Linked DNA regions of Homo sapiens: all the other regions are linked to region 1. The links are contacts of gene promoters, found by promoter capture Hi-C in blood cells and fetal thymus (Javierre and others, 2016). All regions are on one chromosome and are shown on one strand. The core of a region is centred on a gene start or on the middle of the fragment in contact, and the rest is flanking DNA. Distances in the headings are between cores, read along the strand shown. Region 1 holds the start of CDKN2AIP (CDKN2A interacting protein). Region 2 holds the start of SNX25 (sorting nexin 25). Region 3 overlaps CFAP97 (cilia and flagella associated protein 97). Region 4 holds the start of SLC25A4 (solute carrier family 25 member 4). Region 5 has its middle 13 kb from the start of CENPU. Region 6 overlaps CASP3 (caspase 3). Region 7 overlaps IRF2-DT (IRF2 divergent transcript).

The links. The method cuts DNA at HindIII sites, captures the fragments that hold promoters and counts their contacts. A CHiCAGO score of 5 or more calls a contact.
Region 2: the fragment with the promoter of SNX25 here is called in contact with the fragment with the promoter of CDKN2AIP in region 1 in 2 of 17 cell types (naive CD8 T cells and non-activated CD4 T cells); the score reaches 7.9 in naive CD8 T cells.
Region 3: a contact is called between a fragment that was not itself captured here and the fragment with the promoter of CDKN2AIP in region 1, in 1 of 17 cell types (naive CD8 T cells). The highest score is 6.7, in naive CD8 T cells.
Region 4: a contact is called between the fragment with the promoter of SLC25A4 here and the fragment with the promoter of CDKN2AIP in region 1, in 1 of 17 cell types (naive B cells). The highest score is 5.5, in naive B cells.
Region 5: a fragment that was not itself captured here is called in contact with the fragment with the promoter of CDKN2AIP in region 1 in 1 of 17 cell types (fetal thymus); the score reaches 6.5 in fetal thymus.
Region 6: a fragment that was not itself captured here is called in contact with the fragment with the promoter of CDKN2AIP in region 1 in 2 of 17 cell types (fetal thymus and naive CD8 T cells); the score reaches 6.1 in fetal thymus.
Region 7: a fragment that was not itself captured here is called in contact with the fragment with the promoter of CDKN2AIP in region 1 in 1 of 17 cell types (fetal thymus); the score reaches 8.2 in fetal thymus.

What each region holds. Positions count from the first base shown.
Region 1 is chr4:183,442,471-183,446,282 of GRCh38, forward strand. It overlaps CDKN2AIP (CDKN2A interacting protein), which reads left to right and starts at 2,166. Exons shown (of 3, transcript NM_017632.4): 1 at 2,166-2,599; 2 at 3,065-3,195; 3 at 3,618-3,812. The coding sequence starts at 2,328. RefSeq lists a silencer at 1,641-2,190 and an enhancer at 2,471-2,620. The HindIII fragment of the contact is 3,011 bases long and covers 890-3,812 here.
Region 2 is chr4:185,207,922-185,211,733 of GRCh38, forward strand. It overlaps SNX25 (sorting nexin 25), which reads left to right and starts at 1,677. Exons shown (of 19, transcript NM_001378034.2): 1 at 1,677-2,334. The coding sequence starts at 1,906. It also overlaps a transcript of CFAP97 not described here. RefSeq lists silencers at 1,376-1,955, 2,066-2,225, 2,296-2,485. The HindIII fragment of the contact is 7,757 bases long and covers 1-3,812 here.
Region 3 is chr4:185,184,002-185,187,813 of GRCh38, forward strand. The region is part of intron 2 of CFAP97 (cilia and flagella associated protein 97); the gene reads right to left. Among named protein-coding and RNA genes, the nearest start is that of CFAP97, 18 kb to the right of the region's middle. The HindIII fragment of the contact is 2,607 bases long and covers 846-3,452 here.
Region 4 is chr4:185,141,322-185,145,133 of GRCh38, forward strand. It overlaps SLC25A4 (solute carrier family 25 member 4), which reads left to right and starts at 1,945. Exons shown (of 4, transcript NM_001151.4): 1 at 1,945-2,162; 2 at 3,443-3,812. The coding sequence starts at 2,052. RefSeq lists a silencer at 1,717-2,016. The HindIII fragment of the contact is 6,667 bases long and covers 1-3,812 here.
Region 5 is chr4:184,745,116-184,748,927 of GRCh38, forward strand. No RefSeq gene overlaps it. Among named protein-coding and RNA genes, the nearest start is that of CENPU, 13 kb to the left of the region's middle. RefSeq lists an enhancer at 2,228-2,729. The HindIII fragment of the contact is 1,742 bases long and covers 773-2,514 here.
Region 6 is chr4:184,644,572-184,648,383 of GRCh38, forward strand. The region is part of intron 2 of CASP3 (caspase 3); the gene reads right to left. Among named protein-coding and RNA genes, the nearest start is that of CASP3, 3.0 kb to the right of the region's middle. RefSeq lists an enhancer at 1-425. The HindIII fragment of the contact is 2,145 bases long and covers 802-2,946 here.
Region 7 is chr4:184,476,707-184,480,518 of GRCh38, forward strand. IRF2-DT (IRF2 divergent transcript) reads left to right here. Exons shown (of 1, transcript NR_186573.1): 1 at 1-598. Among named protein-coding and RNA genes, the nearest start is that of IRF2-DT, 3.8 kb to the left of the region's middle. The HindIII fragment of the contact is 7,393 bases long and covers 1-3,812 here.

The DNA.
Region 1 (3,812 bases), core at 916-3,415:
CAGAAGAATTGCTTGATATTAGGAGTTCAAAACCAGCCTGGACAACAGTGAAACCTTGTTTCTACAAAAAAATAAAAAATTAGCCTGTCGTCGTGGTACCCGCCTGCAGTCCCAGCTACTTGTGGTTCATAGTCTTTGAATCTTTATATGCAAAGTCAACTTTTTAAGAATCAAAAAAGAAAAATGCATGTATCTTTTATTCCAAGCACCTGGTTTTTGCACAAGTACTCCATCTTTCAGACTCTATCGCTTTTATTATAATTAAAAAAATTGTTTGAAATTCAGGCTCTACTTGTTCTCCTTTCAAGGCAATGAAGCCCATGAGTGGGAAGAAGACTACAGGGCAACAAGAAAAAAAGTGAGAACATTATTATTATTATTTTTTGAGATGAAGTCTCACTCTGTCACCCAGGCTGGAGTGCAATGGCTTGGTCTCGGCTCACTGCAACCTCTGCCTCCTGAGTTCAAGCGATTCTCCCGCCTCGGCCTACAGAGTAGCTGGGACTACAGGCACGTGCCACCACACTTGGCTAACTTTTGTATTTTTAGTAGAGATGGGGTTTCACTACATTGGCCAGGCTGGTCTCGAACTCCTGACCTCATGATTCGTCCGCCTCGGCCTCCCAAGGTGCTGGGATTACAGGCGTGAGCCACTGCACCTGGCCGTGAGAACATTCTTGATTTAAAATGCACATATATAATCTAGGTATGCGATCATAGCTTCTTTTACTTGCCATGGTCCCCTTGCCAAAGAATTCATGAAAGGAGAAATCGTAATTTCTCCACCTTTTAAATAGCCAGATTTCTGCAATCCGTCCACCCCCTCTAGATTTTCAGCAATTATCTGTGAAAAGGAGGAAAGAACAGCAAACTAGAAGCAAAATCACAAAGCTTCAAAATTTCTTTGTGCCTCCGTTTTTATGTAGTTTCTTTTGGTATGGCAGGAAAATGGGCAATATTGTTTTCATACAATAGCTGTATTTTGTTCCAGCATGCACATAAATTACACAGTTAACCTTATCTGATCTTACCTAAAGTGACCTTTTTTTGCTTGCTTATTCTGATTCATGCATTTTTACATCAAAGTCTACATTTATTGAAAGAAAAATTTCATAATTTATATCATTTAACGTATTTATCTTACAGTGCATGTATACCTGGAATGGGAAACGTAACAATAAGCCAGCCAGCAGTTAGAGTACGTAACTGTGGGAAATGTAAAGTGGAAAAAAATATATAGAAGGAAAAAACAGCTCTAACAGGGAGAGAGGTTTGGGGCCCTATAGATAAATAGGTACATTTCCACTCCACCTCCGGACATCTGCCGGTTGGTGGTAAAGCTGTTGATTTTAGGAAATTCTAGAGACAGAGCGTTGTCGGGGTGTTGTTTTCCTACTGACCAGAACAGGAAGGCAATGCCTGGATTAACTAGAGACCTAATAAACTGCGGGAACAAGCCCTACCGCTGCGGGGCCAGGGCCAGCTTCGAAGGCTGCAAGCCTCACGGCAACACGGAGCCAGGTCCTCGTGTGACCTTACTGTCTACTGCTGCTATGTAAGGGGACTGGCACTCCCGCCCTCCTGAAGGCGCGGAGACCCCGACGGCCTCGGAACGCTTCGCTCGGGCACACTGAAAGCAGCGCGAGACGCAGCTCCCAACACTCTAACATGGAGGCCGGCTTTTGTTTGTTTTGGCCCCGCTCACACACAGGCGTCTCAGGGCGGAGACCACAGGCCCCGCGGCTGCGGGCGGCTCAAGGTCCCCCGGGACGCCCCCCTAGCGGACTTTGGCCGCCGCGCCCGGCTGCCTCCCTTGCCCGGGCCCTGCCCCTCTCGCCTCTGCTCCCGGCGCCGCAGCTGACCCGGCGGGGGAGGAGGACGGCAGGAGCGCGCGGCGTCACAAAGCGAGGACAGAACGCCCGGGGTTCCGCCGAGACTCGGTCGTCCCAGGCCAGCTCGACTTGCAGTCCGCCCTCGTGGGGCGGGAGACGCCCGACGCCCGCCCACCTCACCCCCGGGGTGCCCTCCGTGGCCTCACGGGGACGCAGCGTCGCAGCGGCCCCGGCGCCGCAAAGCGTCTTGGGAGCGCCGGCTCGCGCCGGAAGAACGCGAGGGCGCGCGGCGGCGGCGAGGTTATAAAAGGGAAGAAGCCGGCGGTGGGCGGAAGTGGGCGGTTCGGCGGCTCTGGGCGCTGTTGTTTGGTCTTTAGGCCTGCGGAGGGGCGTTATCTGGAGGGCCGCGGGTGCAGGCCGCAGTGACAGGGCCGCTCGCCCCGCTAGTCCTGCCTGTCTCCCGGTGCAGCTGTGTTCGCGGCCTGCAGGCCCAACATGGCGCAGGAGGTGTCGGAGTACCTGAGCCAGAACCCGCGGGTGGCAGCCTGGGTGGAGGCGCTGCGCTGCGACGGCGAGACTGACAAACACTGGCGCCACCGCCGGGATTTTTTGCTTCGCAACGCCGGGGACCTGGCCCCCGCTGGCGGCGCTGCCTCCGCTAGCACGGATGAAGCTGCCGACGCCGAGAGCGGGACCCGAAACCGGCAGCTGCAGCAGCTCATCTCCTTTTCCATGGCCTGGGCGAACCACGTCTTCCTCGGGTGCCGGTGAGTGAGGCAGCGTCCCTAACCAGCACGCCTCGTTTTGTGTGCCACCTGCAGACCGGGGCCCGGCGCCCTCCGCGGGACCGGCCTCGGCGGGGAGGGGAAGTTGTGAAGCGCGGGAATCCGCCGGCCCGGCTGCCCTCTAAGGGGGAGAAGGGCGTCCCTGCGAGGAGCCGACATGATTCCCGGACGTCTGTGTGCCCGGTGGTGTGGGCGCAGCTGCTGGTAGGGTTGCTTGTGTTAGGGAACAACGCTCTTGGGGACGGGTGCGAGATTTAAGATTAGTGAGGAGGTGCCCTGCCTCCCAGACCCTGGGGCACTTGTTTATGGGGTTCCAGGAAACAGTTCTTGGCGGTTGGTTCACTTTCTTGATTGCAGCCAGGAAATGCAGTCCCTGTGGCCTGTTTTTTGCACAAGTAGGACCTTAGAAAAAACACTTTTTAAAAATGACTTTTCCTTCTTTTTCAGATACCCTCAAAAAGTTATGGATAAAATACTTAGTATGGCTGAAGGCATCAAAGTGACAGATGCTCCAACCTATACAACAAGAGATGAACTGGTTGCCAAGGTGAAGAAAAGAGGGATATCGAGTAGCAATGGTTAGCAGATCATAGATGTGAACATACATAGGAGTTTAGAGCATAAGTTTGATATAATTAGGAATTATTGTTACTAATTTTTTTAACAAGCCAGAATTTTTATGTTATTAATAAGTAATAAAGTTGGAATGTTAAACCTAAAGTATATATCTGTGTCTTTAGGCTTTGAATTTGATAGTTTGCTTTGACTGCTTTAGATTTTGAAGTGTCCACTGTTGTCTGATGCTGTTATTTTTTTAATATTAGACATTCATGATGTTATTCAACACTGTTTTAAGAAATTAATGACTCCACACTTTTTAAAGAAACGATTAGTCTTGAAATGTTTTCACTTTGTGCCTTTATTTTAATGTGTATTTGTCTCATCACCCGTTTTGTACGAGGTATTCTTAGTCACATATCTATGTTTTTCTTCTTTTTAGAAGGGGTAGAAGAGCCATCCAAAAAACGAGTTATAGAAGGAAAAAACAGTTCTGCAGTTGAGCAAGATCACGCAAAAACCTCTGCCAAGACAGAACGTGCATCAGCTCAGCAGGAAAACAGTTCAACGTGTATAGGGTCGGCCATCAAATCAGAGAGTGGGAACTCAGCTCGGAGCTCTGGCATCTCCAGTCAGA
Region 2 (3,812 bases), core at 427-2,926, 1.8 Mb after region 1:
AGAATACAGTCCTCGGCATGTAAATGATCAAAAAACATAGATTTGGTTGTTGTTGATAACAAGCCACTGTGCTTTATTTGAATAATTTGGGTTGGTAGGGTACACTTTGAGGGGCTCCAATTGGGTGAAAATTAACAACTATTTTAGAGGCAAAAGGGCTTCTTCAAAATTAATCATACTGCTTTATTTATTTTATTTTATTTTTGAGACGAAGTCTCACTCTGTTGCCCAAGCTGGAGTGCAATGGCGCGATGTCGGCTCACTGCGACCTCCACCTCCGGGGTTCAAGTTTCACTATGTTGGCCAGGCTAGTCTTGAACTCCTAACTTCATGATCTGCCCGCCTCAGCCTCCGAAAGTGTAGGGATTACAGGCGTGAGCCACCGTGCCCGCCCCTATTTTCTTAAAAAAGGAGGAGAAAGGAAACTGGTAACTTATTTTGATCATCCCCTTGGCATGGCAAAGTCACATCTAGCATGAGGCACTCTTCATTTCTGACTTAGAAGGTTTAAGAAAGAATGAAATGAGGCCGGGCGCGGTGGCTTACACCTATAATCCCAGCACTTTGGGAGGCTGAGGCAGGCGGATCACGAGGTCAGGAGATTGAGACCATCCTGGCTAATATGGTGAAACCCCGTCTCTACTAAAAATACAAAAATTTGCTAGGTGTGGTGGTGCGTGCCTGTAATCCCAGCTACTCGGGAGGCTGAGCCAGGAGAATGGCTTGAACCCAGGAAGCAGAGATTGCAGTGAGCCGAGATCGCCCCACTGCACTCCAGCCTGGGCAACAGAGACTCCGTCTCAAAAAAAAAGAAAAAAAGAAAGAAAGAAAGAATGAAATGCCCATGAATACCAATTGATACTAAAAGCAAAAGCTACATCTGCTTCTTTATTAGTCTTAGCAGTAATTGCCAGTGTTTAAGTAGCATATTGGCATCTACTTAGCAAGCGTTATCTGTATATTACTGGCTGGGACTATGACAGAAGAAAAGGCAAATATATACTCTAAAAATTATTTGGACCACGTTCCTTTGCGTGGCTGATAGCATTTGAACTGAATAGTTGGTAAAAAACAAAAAACAAAACAAAACAAAACAAAAACCAGAAGTGGAGCCAAAGTGATTATGGGCAGCTGCGTGCACCCTGTTGCACCAGGCCGACTTCTTTGGACCTTTCCATAGCTAGGAATTGCAGGCTTCACTTACTCCACCGCACGTGTCTGATTCCTTCCCTAAGGCGGCAGGGTGGGAAAGGGAAGGTCGTTAGAAACTGTGACAGGGAGTCTCGGGAACGGTTGCCTATTTAAATAGCGAGTGAAAACCAGGCAGAAATGTTTGCCGGCTGTAAGCAAAGCGAAGAGGTTACTCGTCAGTGATGAGCGGAGAGGGAGAATTACGGGATCACCTGAGCTCAGGAATTACCAGCGCCGCTGACACCTGCAGCAAAATTTTCCATGAACAGACGGCATCCTGTAGAGGAGGAGGGGAGCGTGGGAAAGAGAGGTGTGCACCGCGCTGGGTCGCGCCCTCTCCCCGTGGGGCCCCGGCCCGGACCCCGCCCCCGCGCTGTGGGTGGGCGCCTCCCGGCTGTCACTCAGCGGCCGCGGTGGCTCCGGGCCCCGCCCGACACGCACTTCAGGGCGGCCCCGCCCCGCCCGCGTCAGGCTGGCCAGGCTTCAGTCACAACACGGTGGGGCTCCCTGGCTGCGCCCGGCCCGGCAGCTACGGGCCCAGCGCCTGGTGGCGGCGCTGAGGGGTCGCCGAGAGGGGCCCGGCGGCGTCTGCGGGGGCCGCTCCCTCGGTGGGCCGCGGGCGAGGCATGAGCGCGGGCTCCCCCTGCCTCCGGAGCGCCGGCGGGGGACCGGGGGGCAGGAGATGTGCCTGTCCTTAGCGGCCCAGGAAGCAGCATGCACCCCGATGCGACCGACAGTGGCGGCGCCGGCCCCAGCCCCGCGCGGGCCGCAGGCGCCGGCGGCCGTCCTGTCTCGGGCTTCAGGGGCGAGCGGCGGCCGGAGTCCCCGGGGGACGCGGAGGCAGCAGCAGCGGCGGCGCCGGGGGCCCCGGGCGGCCGGAGCTGGTGGAAGCCCGTGGCGGTGGCCGCACTCGCCGCCGTGGCCCTCTCCTTCCTGGGGCCCGGCAGCGGGGAGGCGGCGGGGGCCGCGGGGCTGAGCTCCGTCCTGTTCAGGCTCAGCCTGTACCTGAGCTGCGCGGCGGCCGCCTTCCTGCTGGGGATCCTGTTTGCCCTCGTCTGCCGGAGCCCGCGCGCCCAGCCGCCCGACTTCGCCGCCGCCTGGAGCCGGCTGGCCGCGACCTCAGCCGCCCGCCGCCCGCCGGGGGTAAGTACCCGACTCCTGGCCGCCCAGCTCCGCCGGCCCTCCCCGCTTCCGGTGCCAGCTCCCGCGCCCCGAGCTCCGGGGGGCCGCGGCATGCCCTTGTCGAAGCGGGAAGCCGGGAGCCAGGGGGCTGGGCTGCGGGCCCGGCCGTGGACGCGAGCGTTCCCCGGCGCCCGCGCGCGGCGGGCTCCGGGCTCCGGGCTCCGCGCTCCGCGGTGCTGGAGGAGATGCGCGTTATTTACTGGGCTCTGTAGTCACTCGACAACCATCCTCAGTCACAACCCTAAGGGTGTCCCCAGACCTTCGGTGTCGCTTGCCGTGGGAGGGGAAGAAGGGAATCACAGCGTTCGCTACGTGCAGGCTCTGCGCACGGTCCTGGCGATCCGCTTGGTTCTTCTGGCCGTTCTCGGTGGGAGGCAACTTTATGACCGTTTGCCGATGAGGAAACTTGCTTCGGTCCCTGGCCCAGCGCCTCACCCCCAAGCCCGCGTACCCTTCCCACCACCCTATCCTGCCTTCCACCATGCGGATACGTATTATAGTTGTGCAGTCCCCGCTGGCTTCTGTGATTTGGAAGGGGGATGCCAGAAATCACTGGTTTGCAACAAAAGGAAAGCCATCCTCAGCGCGCTGTGGGACACTAGGGCGGGGGTTAGGGAATGTAGGAAAGAACAGTGTTTTAAATGAGCGCTTCTCTTCTTCAGTGCCAAACCCACTGCCCCATCTTTCTTCCACATTCCTTCTCATAATCCTTTAAAGGGAACTTTATTCTATCCCAGCTTAACACTCACTGCTTGACTGAGTGATACCATCATTCTAATGAAATTGCCCAAGCGCTTTGGGGTAAGATAAATGGCAGTGGCTCAACTTCATAAGAATATTTGTTAATGATCATTTGTCCCCAGGGTTTGTATTTGCTTATCACATGACCTGCTCACTCCTTTATTTTAAAAGAAAGCACCACACTTCACCAAACTACTCTGAGTGTGTTAGTTCAGAATGCAGCGCTGAGATAATGGCGGAAGGCATTAGTAGGTAACAGACATTTCGCTCAGTAGGCTGATAAACAAGGCAGTATATTAAGGAGCAGGCAACTCCTGTTTTTAGAAGTGGTCTCAAAAATTAGTAAAGTTGGTTTCTCTTACAAAATCTCCACTTAGCCATCCGTTTTTCATATCTCATTTAGCAGGAGTTGCGGAGCAGATATGTCTCTCCTCTTTTTTTCTACCATGGCAAGTAAGGACCCTGAGATTTTACTAGTTTGTTTGTTGATCAATAAAATATGTCTTAGTTCTTGAGTACTGTAAGATGTTATAATTCATTCGGTAAATATTTATTGAGCATCTTGTGTGAGCCAGGTACTGTTTTGGAAGCTGAGTTTGAATCAACAGGACACATAAATATCCTGCTCTCTGGAGATCTTATGGGGGAGCAGGCAATAAATAAATACTGTGGGATAGTGATAAATGCTTTTGAAACAG
Region 3 (3,812 bases), core at 899-3,398, 1.7 Mb after region 1:
TATTTAGGTTCTCTATATCTAATTAAGTTTCAGAAATGGGTTAGACAGGAAGAGTGAAGAATGCTTTATTTTCAATGGAACCAAATAGTTTACTCAGTGTCTTGATATTCAGACCATGGTCCCTAGATCTGCAGCACGGGTATCACCAGTAGGGGCTGATTAGAAATGCCGATTTAGCTCTTACCTTAGTTTTACTGAACCCAAATCTGCATTTTAACAGTATCCCTGGGTTAACCGTATGCATACTGAAGTTTGAGAAGCTCTCTTGGACAAAGTTGGCTGCCCAATTACTGTATATCTATTTTCCTCCTACTTCACAGATCCCTGACTTCCAGGGTGAGCCTGCTTGGCCCAGGATAATCCCATTTCCCCTACCAACGACTGGTTCGGGAATGGGAGCGTAACCAGTTCTGGGCAAGGAGACCTATGTGGATGTTGACTGGGCCAAATTTCTTTAAGAAGTTTCCTCCATTCCAAGAGTCAGAGAAGAGACACTGTCTCTTCCTCTGGACACTGTTGTGTCTGAAGGTGAACACTGAAAACGGCTGCAGACATCTCCTAGCAGCCTAAGAACGAAGCCAACACCAGGGCTGGAGGAACACAGTGCTAGAAAGTAGGTCCCTGATGAAGTTTTGAGCCACTCAATCAACCCTGAAGTCTAGCGTGTCTTTGGGTGACCTGTTATATGAGAAATATTGTTTCATTCGGAATTCCCTTCTTGTATTCAAAATCCTGGATAATCACTGATGACTCTGAACAAAAAGCCCAGAAATCAGACTATTTTCTATTAGATGGTTTTTAAAAACTTGACAATTCTAAGAGTTGAGTGTTTTCTTCCTGTAAGAAGCTTTTTATTGGCTGAAACAATACCTTCCTTTTGTATGCTCGTTTTTTAATCCTCTTTCCTAGGATACAGTGGGGTTTATAATTTGTGGGAACAAATAGTACTTACAAGATTTTAAAAAACGGAAGTGTCCCCTTAAAAATAAAAATTATGATTTAGTCAAACAAGCCCATATTTAAAAAATAAAGCCCACTAGACATATTGAACATTTTAATTTATCTTCTAGAACATTTCTCTTTTCAACCCATTTTTAACCTAATTTTATAAGAACAATACTTTTTAATGCCAAACAATAGGCTGCAACTTTTTAACACGTTTCCCATTTGCCCCAAGAAATGAGTGCTGGCAGTGAGCTGTACTTTTTTTTTTCTGAACAGGAAATGGGTTCAACACATACAAATCACAGTAAGAATTATGAACGAAGAGCAATGCAGCAATAGAAATTTGATGCACAAGAAAAAAGGCAAATATATCAAGATATATGTTATTACACAATATTAGTGAGCAATCTGCATTATCTCATGATATTTTATGATTTAATTTCAACCACCATCCAATTTTTGCATTACAAATATAATTTTAAAGAACAATTCTGTCACTTCAAGGAAAACAGTTGACAGTATTTATTACCAATAATAAAATTTGAGCTTTTTAGCAAAAAATAGTATTTTAGGTAAACTTGTATCTGCCACCATGAGTTTGACAGCTTCTCAAGAGCTTTCTGATGAGGCTGGTAGTGATATTAACAACTATGATTTCTATATAATGTATTCTGAAATTTGCCAACCTTTTTTTTTTTTTTTTTTTTTGAGACAGGGTCTTACTCTGTCTCCTAGGTTGGAATGGAGTGGCGTGATCTCAGTTCACTGCAACCTCCAACTCCCTGGCTCAAGAGATCCTCCTATCTCAACCTCCCCCCGCAGCTGGGACTACAGTAGCACACACCACCATGCCTAGCTAATTTTTGTATTTTTTGTAGAGACAGGGTTTCACCATGTTGCCCAGGCTGGTCTCAAACTCCTGGGCTCAAGTGATCTGCCTACGTCTGCCTCCCAAAGTGCTGGGATGACAGGCGTAGCCACTGTACCTGGCCTGCCAACATTTGTAAGCTCAGTGAAACAATATTTTCCAAATACCCAATATGTCACATTCCAAAACCAGGCATAGGTAAAATATACATTAAAAATCAATCAAGAAAGATCAATATGTTTTAACATAACAGACTTGAAATTCACGATTAAAAGTTAACTGAGATTAATTTCAGATTTCACATTGCAACTAACATCTAAGAAACTATTACTTGTGGGCCAGGCGAGGTGGTACACACCTGTAATCCCAGCACTTTGAGAGGCCGAAGCAGGTGGATCACCTGAGGTCAGGAGTTCCAGACCAGCCTGACCAACATGGTGAAACCCCGTCTCTACTAAAAATACAAAAATTAGCCAGGCGTGGTGGAGGGCGCCTGTAATCCCAGCTACTCAGGAGGCTGAGGTGGGAGAATTGCTTGAACCCGGGAGGCAGAGGTTGCAGTGAGCCAAGCTCGCGCCACTGCACTGCAGCCTGGGCAACAGAGTGAGACTCTGTCTCAAAAAACAACAACAACAGAAAAGAAAATACGACTTGTGGTATAAAAAAATCCACAAGTAACTGAAAAGGTTATTAAAATACTCCTTCATTTTTGAACATTTTGCATATGGCATATTTTCTATACATCCTTTAGCCAATGATATATAGATTATAATAGATTATAAGCAGAAGCTGATTTGAGAATCCAGCTACATTCTATTAAACCAGATGCTAGTGATTAGCAAAAATCACTAATTTTTTTGGATATACACCTTTTTCATGACATACATTACTTACATTATATGGCAACTACATAATGAGTTTATTACTACTATTAAACAAATCAATATTTTAAAAATGTGTAATTTCTAATATGGTAAATATTTACAGATATAAGCTATAACCTATATAAACAAAAGCTCTTCAGAATCCTCAATAACTTTTATGAATGTAAAAGTGTCCTAAGACCAAAATGTTTAAAAATCGTTGTGTTAGAGCACTTGAGGTTGGTGCTGGAAATCCAGAAGAGCAGGAGAGAGCTGCAGCCTGCTGTCTGTCAACCCAATAAATCATCCACCTAGCGAATCGTATGCTCTAGCTTAACTAATGAACACACAGACTGGAAAGTGGCCATAAGAATTATAAGAAAAAAGAATTACAAGAAAATTGTTACCCCAGATGGCTTGATTAAAAATTGGAGATTTTACCCAGGGGAGAATATTAATCAAATGTCTTAAAGATTATAATGCAGAAGGATGCACAGACTTATTCTATGTATTTCAGATGGCAAGTTTTAACAGGAATGGGCAACTGTTATAAAATGAAATTTCCATGAACATATGAAATATGTTTCCTAACCAGCACAGCTGTGCAACAGAAGCAGTTTCCTGACAGTCCCTTCAGTCTACAAATACTGTCTATTATGTGCCTGTATTTGGAAATTCCAACAAGAAATAAGATCCTGCCTTCATTCACTGCAATGGGACACACAAGCAAACTAACTAATTTCAGAGTCTAGTAAGTATCCCGATGGAGAGAAACAAGCTTTTGCGACACAGAGAGGCATGGGGAGTGTAAAGCTCCCAAAGATAGATGTCTAGAAAAAGGCTCTCCCTGGCAGAGACTTGAGAAACAGGGAGAAGCAGAGCCCTCTGCAAAGAAAAAGGGCCACAGCAATGCAAGTGCCTCACCAACGGGAAAAAACCCGGAGTGTCCTTACAACAGGAGCGGCAACAACAACAAAGTGTGACTGGAACTCAGTAATTCAACATCAGGTCGAAAAGGCCAGCAATATCCATACAACGTACAGCAATGGTTGTCACCAATCTCAACAGCATACTAGACCAAATGCATCAGAATCCCTGTGTGCAGAGCCTAGGCATCAGTATTTGTTTTAAGAGTT
Region 4 (3,812 bases), core at 695-3,194, 1.7 Mb after region 1:
GGAGTGATCTCAGATCACCATGACCTCTGCCTCTCGGGGGTCTCGTGCCTGAGCCTCCTGAGCTGCTGGGATTCCAGGCATGAGCCATCACGCCAGGCTAATTTTTGTATTTTTAGTAGAGATGGGGTTTTGCCATGTTGGCCAGGCTGGTCTCGAACTCCTGACCTAGGTAATCTGCCAGCCTCAGCCTCCCAAAGGTATGAGCCACCACACCCGGCCTATTTTTCATCATAAAAATAAGACACAATTCTAATGCACAATTAAAAGGAAAATGGAGGTATAAAAGCAAGTGCTCTATATTACAGGATGGGATACAGTACACTATTATAATTAAAAAGGTTTACTGTGTGGATTATGCTGATCCATGGAAATCAGTAAGTGAAGTTTTGATAAAGTGGAGCAAGTGACGAATACACTGAACTGTAAGGTCTTTGGAGATGGGCCACGTCTACTTATATTCAATCCACAGGGCTACACCTAGTTCTTGGTACACAGTACATGCTCAGCAAGAGTCTGTTGAATGAACACATACATGGTTTATCTGTTTGTCTCTTCCGAGTTCTTGACTTCTGTCTGCTCTGACCTCTGGCAGCTTTCCACTAGTTTCTAGCTTTCATTCTGCTTACCTGGATTTCGGAACTCTAGCCTGCCCCACTCTTAGATAAACGCATGCCCTCTGTGGCCCTGGAACCTTAGTGACTTCTGCTATACCAAAGTCTCCACGCCCAGGGTGACACGCAGCTGCAGCTCCGTAAACCTCTAACATGATGTCAGCAAATATTAAAAAAAAAAAGTTTATAAAACAATGAATAAACTTTGTTAAAGGTACAAATGAAAATTAGCAAACATGGGAAGATAATTGAGTGAAGAGTTTAAAGTTAAAAACGAATTGCAGTCATTCTAGGGGAAGGAACAGTTGTATTTGAAAACCTGTATGGTTACATGAACTGCCTAAAAAACAAGCTAAGGAAAATTAAAGCTCAGATTTATATATTTTAAGAAATTAATTGCAATTAATTTCCTGGGATTAAATAGCATTTCCTCAACCCCAGCTGTCATTAAAAAGAGGCAAATACAGCCAAGGACTGGATCTCCGGAAGGCTGACAGCACTGACCCTCAAGAAGGCACCGGCTGACAGACAGAACATTCTGCCCTAATATGTGCTGAAATTCCGCTGAGAGCAGAGTGGTACATTGAACCCTTTAGGGGCTTACAAAAGAAGTGTCCTGTGTTTTAGAGTCACAGAGTTTTGCAGAAACAAGTATGAATTCACCTAGTGGCCCCCTGCACCAGGTCTTTCCTGTGGGCACTGAGTGCCAGACACATCAATATGTAATAGCAGAATGAATGACTGAACGAACGATTGAATGAAAAGAAATGAGAGGCAGCAGGTTGTCAGATTCTATGAGGCAATCACAGCATCAGGTGACCTTAGTATCTATTTGAGAGGACTGCCATTTATTCTCGGGAGCGCACGGCTCTAAAGAGGCCCATATCCAGGCAGTGAGCTCTGGTGGGGGGCGCCTTTAGATGCAAGAAGGAGGAAACAGCTCGAAATCCCTGGGCCTGAGCGCGGCCCGTGCAGGCCGGAGGGTCAAGAACTCTCCACCGGCGGCAGCGGCCCGGTGTCTGCCCCGGCTTCGCCCCGGCCTAAGGCTGCCTGTGCTATAAATACGCGGCCCACATGCCGCGGTGACACGGTGTTCCCTGGGCTCGGCGGGACAGATAACATGAATGTGCCCTTTAAACGTCCCAAGTTGCAGGGACAGCCCCCGGCCCAGCCTCGCTCCCGGAAGCGCCTTCGCCCCCGATGCCCTCTGCAGCTGGGAGGAGGGGGCGCCCCGCACCTGCCCAGCCAATGCGCGGCGCGAGCGCCGGCCGCGACCCGCCTCCTCTCGCGAGAGCCCGGCGGGGATATAAGGGGGAGCTGCGGGCCAGGCGGCGGCCCCCTAGCGTCGCGCAGGGTCGGGGACTGCGCGGCGGTGCCAGGCCGGGCGTGGGCGAGAGCACGAACGGGCTGCCTGCGGGCTGAGAGCGTCGAGCTGTCACCATGGGTGATCACGCTTGGAGCTTCCTAAAGGACTTCCTGGCCGGGGGCGTCGCCGCTGCCGTCTCCAAGACCGCGGTCGCCCCCATCGAGAGGGTCAAACTGCTGCTGCAGGTGAGGACCGCGCGGTGCAAGAGGCGGGCGCGGGCGCGGCGGGCCGGGCGGGGCGCGCGATGCGGCGCGAGCTGCAGGGCGCGGGGCGCCGCGGAAAATCTGCGCCAGGCCACAGGCCCGGGCGCCCGCCCGCCCGCCCGCCCGCCCGCGGGGGAAGAAGGTGCCCTCTGCGTAGAGACAGGTCCAGCGTCAGTCGCAGATTCCTGGTGTCGGGTGGCGCCCGGCGTTCGGGTGTCTATATATGGAAACCCACCCGGAGCCGGTTTACGTGTGCCAGATCCTGCGCCCGTGACAGCACGGGCGTGCACTCAGGCCCGGAGGCACCTAGTGATTGCCAGTATTTTTGGCACCGTCTTATGCGCACGCACCTTTACAATAAAAACATCAAAATAATCATCACCCAAGAATTCCCTTATCGTATCTCATGCACAATGCTGTATGTAGGCTGACGCCTTCATCTTTATGTAACCTCTGTGAGAGAGTTATTCTTCTCCATTTTACAGATGAAGCTGAGGTTTTGAAATATTAAGAAACAATTTTCGGAATAAACTCAGATCATCCTGTCTCCAAATCTTTTCCTCCCCTACCTGGTCGCTGAATGGTTTATCATCCTCTCGTGTTTTCCTCCACCTGCCCAAAAGGTCAGGGCCCCTCAATGAGGAAGAGCCCAATTTGGGAGTCAGAATTACTAACAACAAAACCCCCACAAATTGCTCACAACGGCAGCAAACCCTTAATAATTGATTACTTGGATTATCTGCTTGAAAACTTTGGAGGCCTAATGTTTAGTGGATTTATTCTCCTTCCTCTATTAGAGCATCTAGTAGAGATCCTCATCTCCAGGGTGATCAGAGTGACACTGAGAAATTGTCATTTTTTGGCCATCATGTCTATTAAATCCAAAGCCCTTTGAAGCAGGGAGTGTTACTCATTTCTGTCCCCCAGTAAGCCCCTCATACAGTTCTCAAACCTAGGGAAAGTGAAATAAATAAATGGCTATAGCTTTATATAATTCAATCACCTTTTCAGTTTATTTGGGGCAATACCTTTTCCCTCAAATACCCTAATAATTGAAGCAACATTGGATTATTTTGGCTTGTTATCCAGTAACTAACATGGATAACAGTATCCATTTACACGTCCTCAGTATCCATTTGATTTCCTCATCCTTTTTTTCTTCAAAAAAAAAATCTAGGAAGTGCAAACCTTTTTTTTTCTCCTGTCCTCTTCCCTTCTCTCTACCCTGCCTGTCCTCTGTCACCCACCCTCCCCTCCACCAGGTCCAGCATGCCAGCAAACAGATCAGTGCTGAGAAGCAGTACAAAGGGATCATTGATTGTGTGGTGAGAATCCCTAAGGAGCAGGGCTTCCTCTCCTTCTGGAGGGGTAACCTGGCCAACGTGATCCGTTACTTCCCCACCCAAGCTCTCAACTTCGCCTTCAAGGACAAGTACAAGCAGCTCTTCTTAGGGGGTGTGGATCGGCATAAGCAGTTCTGGCGCTACTTTGCTGGTAACCTGGCGTCCGGTGGGGCCGCTGGGGCCACCTCCCTTTGCTTTGTCTACCCGCTGGACTTTGCTAGGACCAGGTTGGCTGCTGATGTGGGCAAGGGCGCCGCCCAGCGTGAGTTCCATGGTCTGGGCGACTGTA
Region 5 (3,812 bases), core at 394-2,893, 1.3 Mb after region 1:
GGAAGGGATGGGCTGAAAACGCAGGAGTGGAGGCAGCGGGGTCAGGAGTCCTAAAGGTGACCTGGAGCAATGTGAGCAACTGCAAGGAACGTCAGGGACACCAGAGGACCAGAGGCTTCAGGACACTGGAGGACACCTAGGTGGTGGGTCCTTAAGTTATATGCTTTCATATTTGGGAAATGGAAAAAAAAAACTATTGCTTTGATTATACCAACTATAGAAAATAATGACAAAACTTTAGGGAGGCTTGGGATAAACTGAGTGCTTGGGCCTGGACACTTCCATGTGGAACTATATCTTCCCTGTGATGGAGGTTGATGTATATATGAATTCCATGTTTTGGAATTGTTAGTTTGATTTTGATTGATTGATTGGACTGAGACAAGGTCTCTGTTGTTCAGGCTGGAGTGCTGTGATGACTTCATAGCTCACTACAGTCTCAAATTCCTGGGCTCAAGCGATCCTCCTGCCTCAGTCTCCCGAGTAGCTGGGATTACAGGCACATGCCACCAGGCCTGGCTAATTTTTGTATTTTTCACAGAGAGGGTTTTGCCGTGTTGTCCAGGCTGGTCTCAAACTCCTGGGCTCGAGAACCACCCACCCTGGCCTCCCAAAGTGCTGGGATGACAGGTGTCCGCCACCGCGCCTGGCCTCATTAGCTTGATTTTAAGTGAGAATATTATTTGGTATCTTACAGGATTCTCATGAAGATAAGAGAAGAATGTAGAGGCCCCTCGATACACAGAAGGGGTGCCATTTCTTATTGGACTCAAGCTTTTCTCCAGGGAGCTTTTCTGTTGAATTTTCTTTTCAGCACTGGGTCCACCAGGGGGCAGATGAAGAAAGGGCCTGGAGATTCGACGATGTCATTGGAGCACAGAGCGCCTCACTTTCAGACGTTGTAAATACTGCTTCAAAGTCAGTTCAAGAAGATGAATAAGGCTAGACATTTTAGTTGCCCTTGCTTAACCCTTTTCCTCTTTCACATAAATGATATTCTTCCACAATTTATCCAGTCCATTCCTGTCAATTTCCCATAAGGCAGAGTATGATTCTCTATGACGGAGAGGAAAAGAACTGATGTCTCAAATTTTCCCACTTTCTTATATAACTTCCTACAGCAGTTACTAATTACTGAGTACACAGGAATATCTCACTCAACTTGGCAGTTTAATGAAGTTATCTGTTTTAAGCAGACCCGTTGTTCAACCTCTGTAACTATAACACTACAAAACAGACTTAACACATCCCAGGAGGGCAGGCATGGGGGAGCAGAGGAGGATCATTTCTTTTGGATGTTCCCTTTAAGAAAAAGAGGAAATAAAATCCAGAAAGGAAGTACTCCTCGCCTTTTACAGTTAGAGGGCAGAAAGATTTTTTGTAGCAAACAACGACATTAGATCTCTTCTTATGTCACATGCTTTTCAACATTTCCTGGGTGCTGTTACCCGGCTGCTAAACTTATTTGCTGTGTAACTAATGTTGTTTTAGTTTTTCCAGACCTAACTGGCACTGCTCCTACCCAAGCTGCAATCACATGGCTAAACAGGTCTGGTCAGTACATCATGACCATGCAATGTCTCATGCTTCAGATTCCATTCTCAGCTCCCCAAAGGGTCAGGAGAGTCTGGTGCTGGGATCCTGGCAGGAGCATGCTAGCAAAATTCAGGATTTCTTTAGCCAAGGAATGGCAGACTTCCAACCTGCATAAGCAGTAATTTTATAACTGAAACAGATGTAAAAAACCGAGTGCATAACCTGAGAAAGAGAAAATGGAAGGACATCCCAGAGAAAAGGTGTTTTTTTTTTTAAGGAAATAAGGACAGAAAAATAAGAAGTAAAATGTCTACAGCAGAGTCTTGTGTCTGTAACTCTCCCTCAAGCTGTGGTTGGAAAAGAACTTTCTTAAAAAGGTTTTCACAGCTCTGTAATGAACTTGCTCACTCTGACAGCACTTTTGGTTGACCTGAGAATACACACAGCTGTGAGGCTGACCTTGTTTGGCCAGTGTCCTGACCTCAGGAGCCCTTACTGCTCAGGCAGGAATGGACTCAGCAGATGGCACCTGGCAGAGGCACCTCCCAGGTGACGCAGCAACTTTCTTCATAGAACCTGCTGTAGAACGAAACCTCTGGCTGCTGCCCTGCACCTTATAGGCCAGCTCTCTCACCCCTTATCACTGAGCATAAAGATCATTCTCACCCAGGCCACAAACATGCTCTTTGTTTCCAGGGCTTAGAGAATCAGGGAAGGCTTCTAAGCAAAGTGCCATCTCCAATCCTGTAGGAGCAGCCAGGCCAGGGTGAGAGTGCTCTGGGGAGGGAGGCCAGCCTGTCCAAAGGCTTTGCAGTGAGCAAAAGCAGGATGCACTTTGGGAGCTGGAATAACTGAGGCATGGCTGGAACAGAGTTGGGGAAGTGTCAAGAAATGAGGCCAGGGAGGCAAGCAGGGGCCCTTCAGTTCCCTACTCCTCAAAGTGTAGCACAAAGACCGGCAGCACTGGTGTTCCCAGGAAGCTTGTTAGAAATGCAGAATTGCAGATTTAGTGAATCAGAATCTTCATGTTAAGATCCCCAGGTGGCTGGGCAAGGTGGCTCATGCCTGTAACCCTAGCACTTTAGGGGGCTGAGGCTGGAGACTCACTTGAGCTCAGGAGTTTGAGACCAGCCTGGGCAACGTGGTGAGAAACAAAAAAACCAACAAATTAGCCAGGTTTGGTGGTGCACGCCTGTGGACCCAGCTACTTGGGAGGCTGAGGCAGGAGAATCCTTAAGCCTGGGAGGTCAAGGCTGCAGTGAACTGTGATCATACCACATACTCCAGCCTAGGCAACAGAGCAAGACCCTGTCTGAAAAAAAAAAACAAAAAAATTCTGAGGTGACTAGATGCACAATCAATTTCGAGAAGCCCCCCCCTCTCACTCCATTAAGCAGTTCAGACTAGGGAACAATAGGAAGCCTCTGGACAATGAAGCAGGAGAATCACATGGTAAGACTTGTGATTTAGAAAAATCTTGCTTGCTGCAGAATGGGTAAAGTAGCAGGGACCAATATAGGCAGCAAGGGGGCCAACTAAGAGGCTGGTGCAATGGTCCTGGCAAGACGTGGCCTCCGCCCTAAGGAGTGGGAATGGAGCATGGTGAGAGGTGGCCAGATTCGGTAGCCAATAGGAGACAGCAGCAACAGGAACTGGTGGCTGAGGCTGCCTGGAGCAGCCCTGGAACTTCTCCCAAATGTGTGGCCCACTGACAGCTGGGCCCGGGTGAGGCCCAGGCGCTGGCAGCAGCACAGCAGGGTGGGGAATGCAATATCAGTGGGTGTGGGACTCCAAAACCAGAGTCCTTCTGTGTCTGCACACGTCGCCTGGTGCAGAATGTGAGCAAACTGGTTTTCACGTATGCTCAGTGTGTGTCCCATTCACTGCACGGTGCTTCGCTGTCCCTGCAGCTGGGCTCTGGGGTTGGTACTTCTGTTGCTCACTCTCCAATTGGAACAAGCCACATGCAAAGCAGGAGGCCTGCCTGGAGTTCTTGGGGAGAAACACTGCAGCGTTAGTTAGTATCCAGCAAGGACAATTTCGGCCAGAGAAATCTGACAGTCAAACCCACTCCCCTTAGCCGATAAAAGTCTCAATAAAAAAGTGACTAAGAACTTATATGCAAAATATGTTTATGAAAAAGAAATCCTGTTGTAGGCCAAGAACAGAATCCCTCTGCACCTGAAGAACACTGCTTAGAAGCAAAATTCCTTTAGCAAGACTTCTACCTTTGAAGCAAGTCAACCAAGCAAAGGAGTTCACTGAGTCCAAAGGAA
Region 6 (3,812 bases), core at 624-3,123, 1.2 Mb after region 1:
CCGCTTTTTCCACATGAAAGCACCAAATCCACACTCCTGGGAGCAGAGCTTTGGTTCCCGCAAAACTCACTGAAGTGCTGCTTAGCATGACATCACCTCCATTAGCTAGTGCCCAGCGGGGTACAAATTATTCTGAGGATGGTGATCTCATCTTAGAAAGATAAAAAATCATATCCTAAAGGAAACAGTCACTGCCTTAAATGAAAACATTTATGTGCCAGTCTCTAAAACTGGCAATCCTAATTTAAATTTTAAATCTCTAAAATTCTTAATCAGCTCATTAGGCTGTTGCTGGTTCCTGTCCTACAGGGAAACTCTGAGGTAAGAAATAAAATCTGGTCTCTGCCCTAAGGGTTTTTAAATCTCAAAGTGAGACCTAAAAAACAACTGTTAGTTTCTGAATCATGTCCATGAATGTAAATGCTTTTAAGAAACATTTACTAGTAAAGATTTACCAAAACAGTAGCCAAAGGATGTGGCGTGAGAGCTGTGTGCAAAGCGCTGCGTGATGACTGTCCCTCTTAATGCTGGCTCATACAGGCTAGGTACTGAACTCAAAGTACAAGCGTATTTTCGTGAGTCCTCCCAATGACACTCTGAGGCATAAGGATCCCCACTGCAGAGTTCAGGTGACTGAGGCTAAGAGAAGTTAATGAACTTTAAAGTCGCACAGCCAAGATTCAAACTAGGATCTTCCCAACTCAAGAGGGCAGACTCCCACTATTCTGTAGACAGCTTAGTACTATATAGGAATGATAACACTTAACTTCAGGGAAGGAAACAAAAATCCATAATCTCAGAAGCTTTAAATAAGACAAAGAAAATAAATAACATGATAGAAAGTTACTGCAGAGATAACAAAATAACATAATGCACTGAATTCTAATGAATGAAAAAATGGCAAAAATGACTATGGCATTTCTGATGCGACTAGGTAGTTTACTTTTGTGTTTTCTTTCCTTTTTTAAAAAAATTTAACAAACTTCGCATGTGGCATTCAATTTACTTCTAAAGTGAAATAGGCCAGACACAGTGGCTCGCGCCTGTAATCCCAGCACTTTGGGAGGCCAAGGTGGGAGGAATGGTTGAGATCATGTGTTCAAGACCAGTCTGGGCAACACAGAGAGACCCCATCTCTATAACAAAGTAAAAACAAGTAGCCTGGCATGGTGGCACACACCTGTAGTCCCAGCTACTCAGGAGGCTGAGGCAAGAGGATTACTTGAGCATAGGAATTGGAGGCTGCAGTGAGCTATGATCGCACCACTGCACTTGAGCTTGGGTGACACAGCAAGGCTGTTTCTAAAAATAATAATAATAAAAGTAAAATAACTGGTTTCATGTTCAGCGTTAGGTATATGTCATTAAAACATATTCCCTGTATCTCTGTGTTCCTCCAAAGGAAAAGTGAAGCCTGTCCAGCAGGACTTCTGGGGAGATTACACTTCTGTCAAACAACTTGAAAAATATCAGGATTATATTTATTACCTGTCAGAGAGGACAAAGTCTCAAAAGCAGTCACGTTTCCAGATTTAGCAAATGAAACAGAAAGAACATCTGTTTCACAATAGTTTGGACAAGAAAAGACTTCAGTTGTGATGTACCAGAGGTTTTATCAAAATCTTTTCCCATCTGGTCTCTGAATTCATTTGAGTACGTATAAGAATTATCAAACTGGCGATTGTAACTGGGCCTGGTGAAGTCAATCTTTTAATATTTGTTATGTAATTAAGGTAAAAATATGAGAACAGGAATGTAAAATCAAATACAGAATACATTGAAATAAGTTCCATTGTACTATACAAACAAACCATCCTTTCCTTTCCTCTGGCAAGGGCCACGTGACCAGGAAGACAGTACAGAGCACTCTCCACTATTCAAAGCCTCTGAGTTTATGACACAAGTTAGAAAGAAGGGCACTTAGTATGTGCAAACGATCTGTCTTCCCTGTGCCAGGTGAAGTCCTAAGATGGTGTTTTTGGAAGGACAAAAGGAGAAAATGGGAAAGCCTTCACAGATCTAAATGATTTGTATGATATAAGTGTAAAATGGAGGATCTCGGATGCCTTTTTATAAAAATTACAGATGACTTTAAAGCCTCAGCACTCCCACCAAGGATGACTACTTTGCAGAATCAGATTCAAGTTTAAAACCGCTTGAAGAAATCCTGCTGTCAGGAAGACTGAAACTGCCAAAACTCAGATTCAGTAGCATTTATTCATTTGATATTTGCACCATAACAATTTACTGAACACCAACTGTGTGCAGAGTACTATACTAGACCCTGAGTGTATCAAGCAGTGGAAGAGACAAACCCTATCTCTATTCAGGGCTTATACCGATGCTCACTGGTATTCAAAAGTGGCTCAACAAGGCAGATGCCAGACCGTGTCCAATACATATCAGGTAGCTTGATTTCATTATTGTAATGCAAAGAAGCTCTACAGGCAACATGTGAAGGTAAGAACAAAACATGCAGAGAAAGAATATTATATAAATCTAAGAATTCTCCCATCTTTGTTTAGGCCCAAACACCAGTGCTTCTTATCTTTGGGGCAGAGCTTAAAGATCTAATAGTAGGCACCAGAAGCAATGTAATATATCATTCATCAAAATAAAGACTGCTTTGTAGGGGGATGAAGCAGTAGGAGATTGTGTTAAACGAGGTTTGAAAACAAAACAGTAAAGAAGCATTATAATTGCCTATATCAGATGCCAGTCTCTTCAAATGGCAAGAGGCAAGGCCTTTATTCAGGATAGCAAAAGCAAATCTGATTTAACTAGGTACAATGTCTAATGTCTCTTACTTTGAACAGGTTTTATTGCCATACTCCAATAAACTGTTCATCCATTCACTAAAATAATTTTCACTTTCAAAAACCTTCTTTTGCAAAAAGGCAAAGCAAAACCAAAGTCCAAGCATCGGGCTGTGATAGAGATGATTTAAGCTTTATATTTCATTTTTAGAGATTATGTAACCACAGCACGCACATTCACAGTGGCTGAGCCCATTTTGATACAGTCTGGTCTAACCACCTTGCCTGGCCCTCTTTCAGCTATCTTGCAGGTTTACATCGTTTCAGTGACTCCGTATGTCACCTCTACCATTTCTTTTCTAATTATTATTTGCTGAATAATCCTAAACCAGGTCTACTTTTTCTAGATAGGGCATAAAAGTAAAAATACAATGGATGGGCATTCACTGTGTTATGCCAGGCCCCGCATTTGGGGCAAGACACTAAGGATACCAAGATAAACCAAGTCCGTCCCTCCTGGAGTTTGCTTGCAAATCTAGCAGGGAAGATAGTAAACAAGCAACTGCAAAGGATATGACACATCTCTCTTAGGGAATGCTGGCTGCAGAAAGAACACAGCATAGGAAGATTTAACCTTAAACTGTTTAATGAAAACAGAAATTTAAGTAGCAGCTCTTCTAATCAAATGTGATGGCGGGAGAAAGGGAGTGCAGAGGTGTTGCAGGCAGACACTAGGTATGAAGGTCAGCATTGCCGTGCAGAAATCGAACCGGTGCTAAAGATAAGGAGGGGTGGGGGCACTCAGGACCCAACACACGCAGGGGTTTGTTAGCCATATTAAGTGCTGGGTTTAACCTAAGGGCAAAGGACGAGCTTTCTAGACTTTCATTTCATAAAGATCCCTCTGCCTGTGCTGTAAAAAGTGGACTGCAAAGGAGCAGGCGGGTCTGGAAGTGGAGAGACCAGGGAAGAGGCTGCTGTGGTCAGACGGCTGAAATCAGAGATAGAGAGACGCGGACAGATCTGGCAGACATTTACAAGGTCGACAAGGCTTGG
Region 7 (3,812 bases), core at 413-2,912, 1.0 Mb after region 1:
AGAAAGAATGAGGTCTAGTTGGACCAGCTAACACTGCCTGCCTTGTGTTTACGAAAGGCAGCTGCCTCTGTGGTGTGATTTCAGGGGAGCCAGACAGGGCCGGGGCCACGAACCTGCATCCTGCATCCTAAGCACCTATTGCCATGCGTGAGGCTAACTGGAAACTCACTTGCTGGGTGCAGATAGCTTCCAAACTATTGTGATGCTCATGCTTGACTTCCCAAGGAACGTGTTTCAGGAAAGGCCATTGCCCTCATTATGGTCTTTGATAAGCAGGAAGAAGTTTGTTGTTCCTTTTTTTTCTTAATGCCCTACTTCGTGCAACATACATCCAATCAGTCATATCCTATTGACGCTACCCCTAAATATCTCTGGGCCTGGCCCGTGCTCAGGGCACTGCCTTCATTCAGTTACTGCACTTGCCTGCTGCCTGTGCTCCTGGTCTCCTGCTTGGACTCCCCCAGGCCAGCAGCCACACTACTGCCAAAATCCAGTCGAAAATTAACTTCAGGTAAAGCACAATTCCAAACCTAACACTGCCCCCCTCAAAAGCCTCTCTGTAGCCTTCAGAATAAAGACCATATTATTTGACAAGACACATAAAGTCCATTGTAATCTGGCACCAAACGACCTTTCCAGCCTCATCTCCTGCCATTGTGTCCCACAAGCCCTACATCCCTCCCTTGCCAAACCAGCCTCCGCTCCTTTTTGTCAAACAACAGAGCTGTCCTCTTGTTCATTGTTTTATCTTTAGCATGGTGCCCAGCACACAGGCACTGAAATACTTGTGAATTAATAATTACTTGCTCTTTTCATCAGGCTCTCATAAAATATTTTAGACTTGATCAGAGCCTTGTTTTATATTTTAATAGCTTTTTAATATAAATGTAATTAATGTTTCTTGTACAGAATTTGGAAGATGCAAGAATGGTGAGAGAAGAACATAAGCCACCTGACATCTCACTAGTCAGGAATAGACCTGTGGATATTTTTATGTATTTCCTTCTAGTGATCTTTCTAAGGGACCGTTTCCAATCCGCATCTCCTCTGTCTGTGTGTAGGATTTAAGAATGCTGACTGTGCAGGCTGCTCTCCACGATGCCCATGTGACAGCCTGCTGTCCTATTCTAGTTCTTGGCCGGTTCCTCGTCTGCTGCCAGCCCCCTAAATTATGGTGTTTCCAGGCATTCTATCCTCAACCCTCTTATTTTCTCATTCTACATGCTTTATCTTTGGGTGTTCTCCTCCACGCCCAGGGCTTCAGATATCACTATTTGCTGATGACTCCAAAATCTGTAACTTCTGAGCTCTGACCACATTAACTCCTACACATGTCTCAGGTGCAACAAATTATACATGTCCCAAGTCAGAGAGAACATCTTTTCCACAGCCTTGCACTGTTCACTTCATTGATTAGCTGGGAAACTGGGAGGACTCACAGACTGCCCCCTTTCCTGAGTCCTGGGGCCTCCCTGAAGCATGGGTGTTGCTTGCAATTTTCCAGGCCCCTAAACTCATAAAACATAGACAGAATGAATTTCTGTTCTTAGGCCCTTGATGACATGTCACTGCAAACCAAAAATGTACAAATGAACCAAAACAGCCACATGGTACTGATATACACAGTCAAGAAGTATCTTAGCCCTTTGATGAGATGCATATAGTAATAAATCTCTGTGGAAACTCCAGCCTTTTTGGAAGCCTGGGTAAGAAAGTAGGCTCAGTGGCTCACGCCTGTAATCCCAGCACTTTGGGAGGCCGAAGCGGGTGGATCATGAGGTCAGGAGATCGAGAACATCCTGGCTAACACGGTGAAAACCCGTCTCTACTAAAAATACAAAAATTAGCCGGGCGTGGTGGTGGGCGCCTGTAGTCCCAGCTACTCGGGAAGCTGAGGCAGGAGAACGACATGAACCCGGGAGGTGGAGCTTGCAGTGAGCCGAGATCACACCACTGCACTCCAGCCTGGGCGACAGAGCCAGAGCGAGACTCCATCTCAAAAAAAAAAAAAAAAAAAAAGAGTAACCTTTGTCATACTGAGGAAATCTGACCAAACACTTCAGTCTAACGTGAAAAAAGTTGAAGGGTCTTTTATAGTGAAACTAGAGTCATCTCCTGGATGAAGCATGTTTGTATTTCACCTGTGGGATGGAATATCCTAAAAGATCTGCCTGGCTGCCTCAGGACTCATTTCTTTTCAGGGGAGTCGGGTGCAGACAATATTACTTGAGCACAATAGTGCCGGATCTCTCCTTGAGTGGATCTTAACTAAGGAAGAAATGTAAAGACACATTCAAAGTTGACCCCTTTCAAATGGGTTTTTAACTTAGTTTCCTAAAATTGAAACAAAGTTTCATAAAATGATCATTCAAATAAAATCTGTTGAGTGCTCAGGAACATTTCCCAGCACTAGGGATACAGCAGTGAACCAAATGAATGAAAGTGCCAGCCTTCTAAGACGTTTTCTTACAGTCTTGTAGGTTGACATGTTGATTTCCACTGTGGCATCCCAGTAATGGCACCGACATCATCTCCACCTGTAATCACAGCCTTCAGAACTGTACATGCAACTTAGGAATGTGTAACATGAAGGCATATAAATGAAAACCTAAGTATTTATAGCTATGATTTAATCAGGAGCCCCAGGTCTGCAAGCAGATGCTCAGTTTTCTCCCCAGAATCACTGGGACCACTTCTGTCTTGGCCACTGGAGCTCCCCTCCAAGGTGCTGCAATTCAGGAGGTTAGAAAGTCATGGAAAACGAGGGTTCCACCCTTGCCAGAACAGTTGCCAATACAAAAGCCACAGATTAACAGTCCTGAGTTGCAAAGAACATTATTGTGAAGTCCAAGTTGAATAAACACACAGCCAAGTTAAATTTTTTGCGGCAATAGAACAGCAATGGGATTGAAAAAACCATCAGTCAAAGTTCAAAGGTCATTGGCCTCAAGTTGAAAAATTCTTGAGCATGTTTGACTGTTACTTTATGTAATGGTTCCTTCCATTTTACAAGAAACTAGGAAGTGGGGGTCATTTTGTTGCAACTATTTTCTGAAAATCATGAGTTTACATTGAGTAATACATTGCTCAGTTTTGGGTGATACTCATTCTGCCCTGTTCTGAAGGGAAAACACATTCTCTAAAATTGCCTGGATTTCTGTGTGTGTCTGTGTGTGTGTGTGTGTGTGTGTGTCTATGTCTGTGTGTGTGTGCATCTCTGTGTGTTTGTGTGTCTGTGTGTGTGCGTGTGTGTGTGCGTGCGTGCGTGTGTTTTTCCTTTCCCAAAGGAAGGCTTTCAACTTTGAAAACTTCATGAAGTGTTTTTTGGCATAATTTCCCAAATGGCTGTGGAATATGTGAAATATTCCTTATTTCTCTATGGTGACAAACTATAAAGTAGTCCTTTTACCTTTAAAGACAGAGGGACATGGTGTCTATAGCTTTGCCTTGACGTTCTGCAGAGCAATTACTATAATAGTTTCAGGTATTGAAGATATTTTAAAGAATAAATTTCAAATTTGTAACCTAAATTTAGGAGACTACTTGGTTCACTGGTCATCTGTATATTTGAAGAAATTTTTAATATTGTTATATTTGTTTTCTTATTTTAAAATATTTAATTGTCAGCCAGGCATGGTGGCTCATTCCTGTAATCTCAGAGCTTTGGAAGGTCAAGGCAGGAGGATCACTTGAGGACAGGATTTCAAAACCAGCCTGGGAAATATAGCGAGACTGTCTACACACACACACACAAAAAAAAAAAAAAAATTAAGAGGGTGTGGTAGCGTGCACCTATAGTCCTAGCTACTTGA